Linked DNA regions of Homo sapiens: region 2 is linked to region 1. Evidence: promoter capture Hi-C in human tissues and cell types (Jung and others, 2019). All regions are on one chromosome and are shown on one strand. Each heading gives the region's core, a stretch centred on a gene start or on the middle of the fragment in contact. The rest is flanking DNA. Distances are from core to core; before and after follow the strand shown.

What was found. Contacts are between HindIII fragments. The study calls those that stand out against the background at their distance.
Region 2: the fragment with the promoter of GUCD1 here is called in contact with the fragment with the promoter of CABIN1 in region 1 in 1 of the 25 tissues and cell types used here (dorsolateral prefrontal cortex).

Annotation. Positions count from the first base shown.
Region 1 is chr22:24,007,176-24,012,870 of GRCh38, reverse strand. It overlaps CABIN1 (calcineurin binding protein 1), which reads right to left and starts at 1,567. Exons shown (of 37, transcript NM_012295.4): 1 at 1,504-1,567. LOC105372959 (a long non-coding RNA gene) reads right to left here. Exons shown (of 2, transcript XR_001755457.1): 2 at 4,004-5,695. The HindIII fragment of the contact is 7,958 bases long and covers 1-5,695 here.
Region 2 is chr22:24,553,211-24,559,555 of GRCh38, reverse strand. It overlaps GUCD1 (guanylyl cyclase domain containing 1), which reads left to right and starts at 4,418. Exons shown (of 6, transcript NM_001284254.2): 1 at 4,418-4,607. The coding sequence starts at 4,565. SNRPD3 (small nuclear ribonucleoprotein D3 polypeptide) reads right to left here and starts at 3,557. Exons shown (of 4, transcript NM_004175.5): 1 at 3,485-3,557; 2 at 1,756-1,899. The coding sequence starts at 1,881. RefSeq lists enhancers at 1-27, 3,750-3,849 and a silencer at 4,310-4,669. The HindIII fragment of the contact is 7,481 bases long and covers 1,787-6,345 here.

The DNA.
Region 1 (5,695 bases), core at 318-2,817:
GAGAACTGCTTGAACCCGGGAGGCGGAGATTGCAGTGAGCCGAGATCATGCCACTGCACTCCAGCCTGGGCGACAGACCAAGGCTCCGTCACACACACACACACAAAAGCTATTGAATAATCATGAAAAAGAAAAATATCTATTCATTTCTGACTCCCAGCCCAGCAGCTGCATTTCCTCAGATAGCAGCACATTCACCAGGCTTATTAGTCTAAGCTAATAAGTTTCCAAACCCCTTAGAATATAGTTTCCATGGCCTCAGAACACGATAAAGAGTAGCACACCTTCAGACCTCAGCACCCTGATCCAGAGTGATAACTGGGGATGTTTCCTGGCCTGGAAGGTGGGAAGCCTATGTCTTAAGCTCAGTGGTGGCAGTGCCCTGGCTGTGTGACTGACTTGACATAGATGTCAGTCTCTCAGTCTGTTTCCCCTCATGTATGAGGCTTTGTACTAGATGAGGGTTCTGCAAGCTAACCAGCCCACCCTTTTTGTACAGCCCACGAGCAAAGAATGGTTTTTACATTTTTTCATATTTGGGAAAAAAAATCATGACACGTGAAAATTATATTAACAATATATAAAATTAAAACTTCGGTCCCTATAATTAAAATTTTATTGCGACGCAGCTAGTCTGTTATGTATTGTCTTTGGCTGTATCCACACTACATCGCTACAGTTAAGTAGACAGAGTATGGACCCCCCAAGCCTAAACTACTATTATGAATACTATTATACTCATTATACTTACAATATAACAATGTAAACACTGATATATTTACAACAAAAGTTTGCCGACCGCTGAACGAGACTGTTCTAAGCATATTCTATTTCTAACCACAATAATCACATAGAAAGAATCTTAGCCACATGGAATCCGACGGTCCCACACTTATAACCTGTAATAACCCAGGTCCTGAAGAGTTAAGTGACTCCCAAAGCCACTTGTGCAGATACCTTGGGAATGCCAGGTGAGTTCCATCTGGCCAGGGCCCGCCTCTTGCGGGGAGGCAGTGAAGCAGAACGGTCAAAATTTTCAGTCTGGAGTCGCGCTCACCCACTGGGTGACTTGGAGCAAATCATTTCACCTACCCGCGGCCTCAGTTTCCACCCCTGTAAATGGCACCAATAACAACACTCACCTCGCAGGGCTGCTGTGAAGGTGAAGCGAAAGGTCGCGAGTAAAGGGTTAGCGCGCTGGGCTTTGCACCCAGCAGACGCCAAATCAATGGTGGCTCCTGCGGTTACTGGGAACCTCCCCGGAGGCCGGAACCCATTCTAGGCACCTCAGGGCGGCGGCGAGAGCCATGAAGAGGCTCGCGAGGCAGCCAGGAAGCCCGGCCTCGGTTTCCCTGACTGGGGCTCTAAAGCTGCCCGCGAAACCCCCAGCTTCCTCACGTAACCCAGCCTCGCGCCTGCAGCCCCTCCGGCCTGTGCCCCGGGCTCTGCTGAGCCTCACCCCCACCCCGGCACCGCCTTCAAACCAGCCTTCCAGGAACTCACCAGGCGTCTCCACAGCAACGGCCAGTCTGTCCCGACCACCGCGCCGTCCGGCTGCGCGCCTGACAACAAGGCGTGCTCCCATTGGCTCCGGTGCCGGTTGTGCCAGCCAATCAGCGGGGGCGCACGCGCCGCTCGCTCTCCGCGGGCTGCTTAGCTGGGGCCCTGCAGACGGCTACCCTTGGGCGGCGCGCGCGCGCGTGCGCGCGTGTGTGCGCGTGTGTGCGCGCGTGCGCGTGTGCGTGTGCGTGTGTGTGTGTGTGTGTGTGTGTGTGTGTGTGTGTGTGTGTGTGTTGCGGGAGTGGAGCTTGTTGTTTCCGGATCCCCGTCGTCAGTCCTAGCGTGCTGGAGGCTTAGAGCACCAGCTCGTAGTCGGACTCTCTTCTCCACAGCTTGCACCCTGAGCAGTCACTAAATGATGGGCTGTGTGTTATTACCTGGGACATGTGCTCTGAAAACAGTGGAAACTTGGGGAACACTTAGAGCGGGGTGTCCAATCTTTTGGTTTCCCTGGGCCACGTTGGAAGAATTGTTTTGGGCCACACATAAAATACACTAACACTAAGGATAGCTGATAAGTTAATAAATAAATAAATAATAAAAATAAAAATCACCAAAAAATCTCAAAATGTTGTAAGAAAGTTTATGAATTTGTGTTGAGCCGCATTCAAAGCCAAGCAGACCAGCGCGTTGGAGAAACTTGACTTAGAGGGAACCAGGGAGGAGGAGCATCCTCATTCATTATATTACCTGTGCCTCTCTTTCCAAAAAGGATGTGAAGCCCAAAAGGAACAGATACAATAGGATATTGAAACAAAAGGAAAAAAAGGAACAAAACCTAGTAAATGAACAAGAAGAGGGGTCATGGGTGGTGTCAGAATTCCAGAGATGAAAAAAGGCGACAGAGTTGAAGGGGTTCTGTCAAGGGTCTTGGGCTGAAAGATGGTACTCTCTTGGGAGCTAGAATAACAATAAAGCATTGTAGGGAAGAACTTTACACTGTGGTTGAATTCATAGCTGCTTGAGTCTTGCACAGATGATTCAAATAGGAGTGAATGTTGGGGGCTTTTTAACCTCAAAGACAGTAACAGCATGGTGAAAAACTCAGTTCAGTACAATAAAGCTATACTGATAAGCTAGAAGTTCTGAAAATTGTTGAGTCACCAACCTTGACTTTGAGTATTGGGGTAAACAGTATTTGGGGGGTAAACAGAAGCATAAACAGATGGTTTCAAAGCTGCATGGATAACCTTCAGCCTCGGATACAGCTTCCACTCAAGCCTTATCATGAAAGATGCGCTGGAGAGAAACAGTTGAAAATAGGTGGGAAGGGTGGTCCAAGCAGCAAGAAAGTTGTGTGGGGAAGGTCCGGAGGTGAGAAACATGCAGATCATGCTGGAGTGTCATGCAGCACAGTGTTACCGTGAGGCAAAGCTCAGGGCCACAGTGGGGAGAGAGCACTCTGGAGAGTTAGGAAGAGGCCAGTCCAAACAAGCAAGCAGAAAACATATTGTTGCAGTCTTGCCCGTGCACCACAATGTACCAGTCTCTCATTGTGGGGTATCACCCAGAATTCTTTGTCTCACGACCAAGAAAATTAGGGAGTGTGGACACAAAGGGTAAGGTTGAAGCAAAAGTTTAATAAGCAAATGAAGAAAGCTCATTGCAGCTGGCGGGGGGCCCAAGCAGGTTGCCCATTATGAGGCTGGGTCAGGGGGTTTTATGGACTGGGAAAGGAAGGAATGTACTGACTGGTCTTGGAGAAAGCACTACTCAGCTTGGCCCCTGGACCTTGAGGGACCAATCAGGAGCTGAAGTGATAGCCTGGCCCAGGACCAATCAGAGGCTCACATTCTAAAGCACGTCCAAGAAAGGAAAGTGCCCACTGGAACCCACTGTAGCCCACCGTGTACATGTCCACAAAAGGAGAAGAGACTATTTCCTGGAAGCCCACTGGTTATACAAAGGACAAAGGCATTTCTATGCTGGGTCTTGTTCCCTTATCAAAGTAGCTGTGGGCATGCCTTAGGCACAAAGATCAAAGGTGTTTCTGTGTTGGGCATTGTTCCTTTATCTGAGTGAGCCAGAGGTTTGTGCAAGTTTCCTTATCTGTGCCTGAAGCCTGATTTTTCAGGCTGTTCCTCTGTTTAAAGGAGTTTTACCAAGGACCCACCTTAATTACCTAACTTTTCTCTCTCAATATCACTCTCACTACACTGAGGATGGCAGATTTAACATGGGGAATCTATATCAAAGACTGTGGCCTTATGGTCTTGGTGAGAGTTAGGCCTGAATCCCATCCATGGTGACCGCAACGATTCATTCATATCCAATGCAAGCATTCCCTGAGGCACTCTGGGAAGCAGGACACCATGAAACACACTGGCAGAGGAATGAGTGCAAAATACTTGGGTCAGGGGTCCAGGGGAAGGAACTCCAAGGTCTAGCTATCAATGAAAGTCCTTAGCAGTGGTTAGGTACAAACACACCAGGCACAGGCATATTCCATTAGAAATTGATTTTATTAACTACATAGACTGCACAGACTGAAAATCTGAATTTGGTGTTTCACTGGTACGCTAAAGATAAGGATCATCAAAGGTTTATGCAGGGAAACAGTGACCACCACGGTGTCCAAGGGTCATTAGAGGAAAATTCTGCATGGAACATGTGGAAAGCTACAGAAATGGAGACTCCCTATAGGCTCCCCCACACCACCCCTACATACTTTGACATTCAACAGACTGATAGGATATTTAGATAAGAGGGTGGGGACCTCATTCATTCAGTTTCAATGCAGTTTCGGCGCTGACATTGCATTTCCAGGTTTGGCATTCTGGGACATGGGTTTTACAAGGTGCCTAGCTACAGAGAATTATCAGCAAGAGTTAACAGAGAAGATGAAGTTCTCTGCCCAGGAATGCCCAGAGAAAGTCCCTGAAGACAAATCTGCCCTGTGCTCTGGCCCACTACAGCAGACTATGGAGAGGAAACAGCTCAGAACTAGTGGAGAAGGGCTGAGCAACTCCTGGAGGTCCAGAATTCTGGGGAGGGCAGGTGAGAGGAGCAGCAATGGGGCTTGAGCTCTTCCTGGACCTGACACACTATCCACTTTTGCAAGACAGAATGACATCCCTTTTGAGCTGTGGATGGTGGAGTTGGCTTGGGGTGAGCCAGGTGGCTGGGCTGGGCCCCATGGAGTGGGTGCCAAGGACCAGGCCCTACACTGAGCCTTCTCTCCTTTCTGCCCACCAAGGGAGCACCTGAAGCCTGAGTTCCTGAAGGTGAACCCCCTGGGGAAGGTGCCTGCCCTCAGAGATGGCGACTTCCTACTAGCAAAGAGGTAATGGTGACCTGGTGCCCACCCAGGGTCAGAGCCAGGATCTGCCTGGGTTCTGGGGCTCAGAGTTGTAGGGGGAGGCAGAGGCGAGAGGGGAGATCTTTCCTTGGCTTGGAGATCTTTCCAAATCACTGAGGCCCCTTCCTCATTTCAGCCTGTGTAGCTCCGATGCAGAGGCTGGACCCAGGGGCACCTTTGGGCTAAAGCTGGAGGCTGGAACCTGGCTAGAGTCTGAGCCAGCTGGAGCTGCCCAGGTGGGGAAAGGACGTAGGTCACCCGGATAAACCTGGACAACCTGAAGCCAGCGGGCAAGGCCCAGGCTTGAGGCTGGCTCCTCCCCAAATGTCCCCAGCTCATCCTTTCAGAGTCCTAGGAGCTGGGCAGACCCAGGGGAGACTCCACATTCAATCCCAGCTCACCACTTCCTCAATCCATGCCCTTGGGGAAATCACAGAACTTTGTGTGCCAGGTTTCTCCTCTGTAAAACGGAGTGGGAGGAATAATGTATCCACCTCCCAGGGCTTACCTGAGGATAGAAAATGGGCACCTAGTGTTCTGGGGCACTAGGAAGGGAACTTGGAGACCTTTTGGGCAGGGCCCACACGGCAGGCACTCTGAGTGGGGACCCTGATGCCAGGGAGTGGGGCCTGGGCACAGAGGGCAGGATGGTATGGTAACTGGGAGGGGAGGTGGAAACATGGGCCCAGGGAGGATCAGAGTTGGAAATGGAGAAACAGAGTGGTTTGGTCGTGGGGAGATACTGCCTGGAGGGAGTTGCAGTATAGGGGAGGTCCTCCCCTGAAGGTGAAGGTGGGGAGAAAACCTGGTCAAATCACCCTGAGTATGAGCAATGAA
Region 2 (6,345 bases), core at 3,169-5,668, 540 kb before region 1:
CTGAATGGCTACCAAGGTTATCTGGTTAGACACCTTCACGTTACGGATGGGATGACAAAGGCCCTGGAAACCCAGCAAGTTGTCCAAATACATACAGCTAATTGAACAAACCCATTAAGCTTCACTAACCCAAGTCTTGCATTCTCCTCACCAAATTAAAGAACCTTAAAGTGGATGAGCATGCCTTAAGCCAGAGGACTGGATATATGAGAGATGATAAACTTATCTACCCTCAATAGATAAACTGATCTATTGACAGTAATGCAATAAACCTGAGTCACCAGAGGTCTACTTCTCTGCATTCAGGGAACTGACCAAGCTTGTCAACCTCGCAGGAAGATGACAGACGCTCAAAGCTACAGAAAAATCACAAATAAATGAACCCTGCAAACCAATGGATGGTCAGGATGCCTGACCGCGGTGTAAGGTGCTTTACCTCTCTGACCTTCTCATCTGGAAAAAAGCAATAGGTATCATATGTTGAACACTCACAGTATGTGAGGCACTGAGCAGCTATGGCACACATACAGCTCATCTGATCTTTGTAAAAGTCCTGGGGGTGTGGATATTACCCCTGTGGCAGTCTTAAGGGTGTGCTGCTCACATCTCCCTTCAAAAGAGAACAGGCTATGAGGAGTGCAGGCAGCCGACAATCTCCATCTTTGCAGTCCACCATGGCATTCAACTTGAGGCTACTCTCTCCCCATGTTGCCAGCCTGAACACACCGGGGGTGCCAGTCCGCCCATTTCTGCCCCATGCTAGACTCTTCTAACGAGCAATCGCTGCCTTGCTGAGATTTCCTCAAAACTACGCTGTAGTCTAAGGCTCTTCCTGCTCAATCCTCCTTCCTTTCCCCTCTCATTTCACCAGTCAGACCAGCACCATAGACTGAAAATTTCCCTGCCTACTACTGCTTCCTTGCTCTTTTATCCTTTATTGTCATTTCCCCCAATAAATACCTTGCAAAATTCTGTCTTGGCATCTACATCAAAGAACCCAACATAATACCACCCCCATTTTACAGATGAGAAAACTGAGTGGTTAATACATCTAAAGTCATATAATTAGGATTCAAACCCACATCTCTCTCTGACTCCCAAGTCCAAGTTCTTAACCAGTGGTTTAAAGAACAAAGAAAGTGTGAAGATACAACTGAAAAACAATGCTATAAAAATTCAGATGACTATGCAAAAGGCAAAGTTGTGCCATGAGAAGGACACCATATCAGGAAACTACTCCATTATTTATCATCAGAGTGATGAGCCCTTTAATCTCATTCTCCCTATTTTATGGATGACAAGACTATCACCAAACCTGCTTACCTCACAAGGTAGTTGCAATAATCAAATGAGACTCCTCCTCCAAGAGAAAAGGGAAACAAATACAGTAGGTGAGAAGATTCTGCTAATCGCAAAGCAAGTGGAGGCAAATGGATAATGGCCCTGAATCTGAAGGATTCTACTGAAGGAAGTAGCACTTCTCCCAAATAGACCCCCATATTTGGGGATGGAAAAAACAAAAAGGACAAAGTAAAATATTCCAAACCTCCAAATGGCTTTTCTGCCTCAAGATTATGTGTCTCGTTCATGCCCACACCCCCAGAGCCTATAACAGCACCTGACTGGTATGCATTAGGCACTTAGGAAATCACTGCTGAATGAGAACAATTTCCAGAGACCCTCAACACACACTTTTCTGTCCTTCAAGACACAGGGCCATTCCTCCCACACAGCCTCACATGCAAAGCAGAATACCTGGCAGTTCATGTTGTCCTCTGCTTCAATGAGCTTCCCCCGATATACCTCACCGGTGTTCGTCTCACATGTCACAATGTGGCCCTCGGCCTCATGCAGTACTTTAATCGGCACACCAATAGACATCTTGGCAGGAAGAGAGTTCTACAATGAGAGAGACAACAGTCAGTTCATCTTTCAGAGTCTGAAAAGGCATGTGGCACACATCATGCTTCCTTTAAGGCCTGGCACTCCATAAAACTTAGCAAAAACACCAAAGCTGCATTTTCTACCAAGGAAAAAAAAAAAAGCTCAGCTCCTGGTTTGGAGGAAACTATCTGGCAAATATGTGCAAGATGTGGGGTGAGGAGGAATGATGGGATGGACAGAAGTAAAACTAGGAATGAAAAGAGAGCATCTCCCATGGGTCATGTGTCCCCGCTACCCTATGTCCCTTAATCTTCAGCTAAAGGACCATTAGCCAATACTGTGTGTGTCAGGGGAGGGGGACTGGAATGTTAATTTGTTGCACTGTTATTTGTTAACCCTTAATTGTAGATGATTACGTTTTGAGAATAATACAGGCCCGAGCTGTCCAATACAGCAGCTCATGTACACACGTAGCTATTTAAATTAAACTTAACTAAAACACAATAGAATTAAAATAAAAAAACCCAGTCCCTCAATCCCAGTGGCCATATTCCAAGTCCTCAACGGCCACATGTAGCTAGTGGCTACCCTATGGAAGGTGCAGATACAGACCAAAGGACCATGCACATCTAGGAGAGCAGGCTGTACTTTTAATTCAGCCCTTTAACCCTTCACTTATTTTACTATCAAGGATATTGAGAAAATATCAAAGTGACAACGTGCTATATGCAGGAAATGCTTGTCATGGAGGAAAATCAGGGAAAGCACCTGACTTGACCTAATCAAAAGCATCAAGCAGTGAACTTTTTATTGAGATGAGCAACAACTCTAAGTTTCAACTTAAGCGTACCTAAGACAGGAGAACATGAGGTTGAAAGGACAGGCTCCTTTGGTGAGGATCCCTGGCTTTCAGCCTTAGGAGTCTAGATTTTATGCTGAAGGTAGTGGAGAACCACTGCAGAATTATATGTAAAGAATGACGCAATGAAAAGATAGCAGCATTTATTTACAAAATGGATAGAACGTAAGGTTTAGAAGCAGAGAAACTTGTTAAAACTTCTGCAACAGTTAAAACTGCTGCAACAGTGTGGAAAGCATGAGGGGACCATTGCCTGAAAGGGGACTGGGGCAGAGATACAAAGAACTTTTTAAAAAATGACCGGCTGGGCGCGGTGGCTCACGCCTGTAATCCCAGCACTTTGGAAGGCCGAGGCCGGTGGATCCCTTGAGCCCAGGAGTTCGAGACCAGCCAGGGCAACATGGTGAAACCCCGTCTCTACTTAAAAAAAAAAAAACAAAAAAAAACTCATAGGATTTGGGGGAAGGAGATAGTCAATCAGAAATGACTTCGAGATTACTGCCTGGAAGCTTTGAAAAACACTCACCTGGAGAGATACAGAATGTGAGAAGCATGCACGTTGAGGGGAAAGCTAATGAACTTACTTCCAGGAGCTAGTGAGGCGACGCTGATGTTTGGGTGGCCCAAGCTTCCCGCTTTCTTCCCTCCCCGAGCCCCGCAGAGTTCCATGCAGCAAGTCTTTCTCCAGCCCCTGGCCCCTCACAGGCGCCTCGACCTCCCCTCGCCCGTCCCCAGCCTCACCGGCTCTGGCCTACTTTTCTTCTCTTCGGTCCGCTGCGAAAGATGCTACGGCGAAGGCGTGAGTCAAGCGAATGGCGGGCCTAACACCCAGAATTCCACTCTTTCCCAAAATGCTGCGCGCAGGGCCCGCCTCCTTCCTTTCCCCAGTGTTGAGCGCGGTCTCGCCTCCGCTTCCTCCTCACTCCGCCTGCCGGCTGGGAAACTAGGGCACCAGTACGATAGTTCCGGCACCGGAAAAGAGGGCTGATGACTGGGCCCGGGGGCCGCCGCAACGACCCTTGGGGCCGGCAAAGAGCCAGAGAGGGTGCTCACACTTCCAAGCACCCCACACCAAGGACAGGCTGGACGGCAAGGCGGAGACGCGGGGCTTGGGCCCTCAGACCGGGGACAGCAGGAGGTTGGGCCAAGGGCCAGGACTTCCCGTCACAATTTCATTTGTTGATCCCGGCACCGCCAGGTAAGGGGGGCCCTGAGTGAGGCTAGGTATCTGGTACGGATAAAGTTAGGTATAGAGTAGAGCGGCTGCCCGCTCAGGGTTATCCCTAAAGACAGTTGGAGGAGAGTTGCTTGGGGCCTCGGGGATGCACTGGGCGGGATCAGGGCTTACACCTAGGACTGGCAAAAGAGCGGGACCCGGCAGAGGCGGGGCTTGCCGAAGGGACGAGCCTCTATTCAGGAAATGCACGAGCTTTGGGGCGGGGCTCAAAGAAAGGGGCGGGGCTTCCGGGGCCCGCGTCCTGGTGAGCTGCGCGTCTGCGCGAGGATTGGGCGAGAGGGTGGGGCCACTCAACGCTGAGGCGGCGAATGGCCGGAGCAGACTTAAATCAAGAGGCTGGGGACCTCTAAGATCAAAGTTTGGGGCGGGGCCTAAGGAGGGGGCGGGGCCTCCAGATTCGAGACCTGGAAGGGCTGGGGCGGCGCTTGGGGCGGCCCAGCCGCCGCCTCCCGTTCTCTCCTCCGCAGCGGCGGCGGTGGCGGAGAAGGAACTCGACACGCACCGACCGCCCTCCCGCCCCAGCCGAAGCGGAAGCTGTAGCCCGCTCTGGGCCGGGGCCATGGGCGCCCCGCGCCGCCCGGGTCATGAGGACGGAGGCGGAGGCAGCGGGGCCGCCGCTCGAGCCCGGTCAGTGCCTCTCTGTGGGCCCAGTCTTCACCCTAGGAACGAAAGGGACCCCTCCCTAGCGCGGGGCAGGGTCCAGTCGCGCGACCTTGGGCCGACTCCCGCCTCGCCCCCACACCCGCCTGGTTCCAGTCAGTGGGGGTTTCCTGACACTCGCAGGATTGCGACCCTTGTCAGCATGGTGGGAAGGTCCGGGTAGCAGGGGCACCACCTTCCCCAGAAGCGAAAAGTCCTGCTGGAGCCGCCTTGGGAGCTCCCATGCCTTGGGAAACCGTGGAGGACTGAGGCTGGGAAGGGCAGGAAACTGGCCGAGAGCACCGAGCAATGGAAGGGCCAGTGCCCTGGCCTCCGAGACTCGGCGTTTTGTCTTGCTCTTGTTCTTCACTTTCGTTCTCTCTGCCACGCGGTAGCCTGAGCCCCTTTGGGGCGGAGACCCGGACTGGTATTCAATGTCTTGGCCGTTAGTTTGCTTGCCCAAGACGTAGGGGAGGGGGAAGACGTGATTCCTGTCCTGCTGAAGGCGCGGGGTTGATGACAAACGGAGTTCTAGCTAGTAAACTCTGAAGTGAAGTGCCAACTGTGGAAGAGGTCAACAGCATGTGGGACCCTGACCTTCAGGTGTCACTCCCAGGGAGTGTTCCCTTTTGTGTCTGCTGTGTGGAGTTGGTGGGGGATTTACAACCCTCCTCCTCCAGTTGTCTAGCCCTGTGGTCTGAGACAAGATACTTGCCTTTCCTGAGCCTCAGAGGAGGAATGGCTTACATTCACAGGGAGTGTTCTATGAGGCAGGCGCGCGCTGCGTGCAGTTGTTTACATGCAGTGCCTCATTAATCCTCATAACGAACCAGTGAAGTAGGTGCCCACTGTGATTTGCACTTTTGCAGCTGAGCAGACTGAGTCTGAGATGGGTTAAGTATTAAAGGCTAGTGCACTGCTTGCCTTCCTTAGTGACAGCCACTAACTGAGCTCAGGCCAGGGCCTTCCAGGCAGCCCTTTGGCTCCAGGCAGCAACGTCTGGCTGTGGCTTTGTGTTTAGAAGGCTAAAGCTGTTATGGGGACAGATGCCAAGGCCTCGCCTAACCTTATCACCCCCAACATGAGCACCTCTAGGTCCGATCCGCCCTTGCCGAGGCTGGAGATGGCCCTGTGGGGCCTGCCAGGCCTCAGGATCAAGGAGTTCTAGAGCGCAGGGCAAGAGGAGGAGGCGCAGCTGAGTCTCTGAGAGAGAGCTGCTGTCTTGTGCCACATTTTATAGCTGGACATGGAAAGGCATGGACAGTCATAGCCTGGCAGAAGATAGCCCAGCTAGTCAGTGTCACAGCCCAAGCCACAGAGTAAGGAGGGAGCCTCACACAGAGGGCTGTAGTCTGGAAGCCTGGGGGAGGAGGGGTGCAGAGCAGGGAAGTGACAAGTAGGCCTGGGCATCTCAAGGTATGAGGTCTTTTTGGAAAACGCCTTCCATTCCCCAAGCATATCTAAGTGCCTACTCTGGGCTGAGGGTTGGAAGGAGGCAAATGCAACCTCATCCCCATCTGCCACTGAAGAATTCTCATTGCCTCTTTAAGGACTCCATATTGAGGGGCCCTGAGAGTGAGAGGGATTAGAGCATGGAGACAACATTAACATTTCAGACTAAGGCTCATCAGCTATCATTAGTGATAGTGTAGTTTATGTGTGGCCCAAGACAATTCTTCCAGTGTGGCCCAGGGAAGCCAAAAGATTGGACACTCCTAGACTAAGG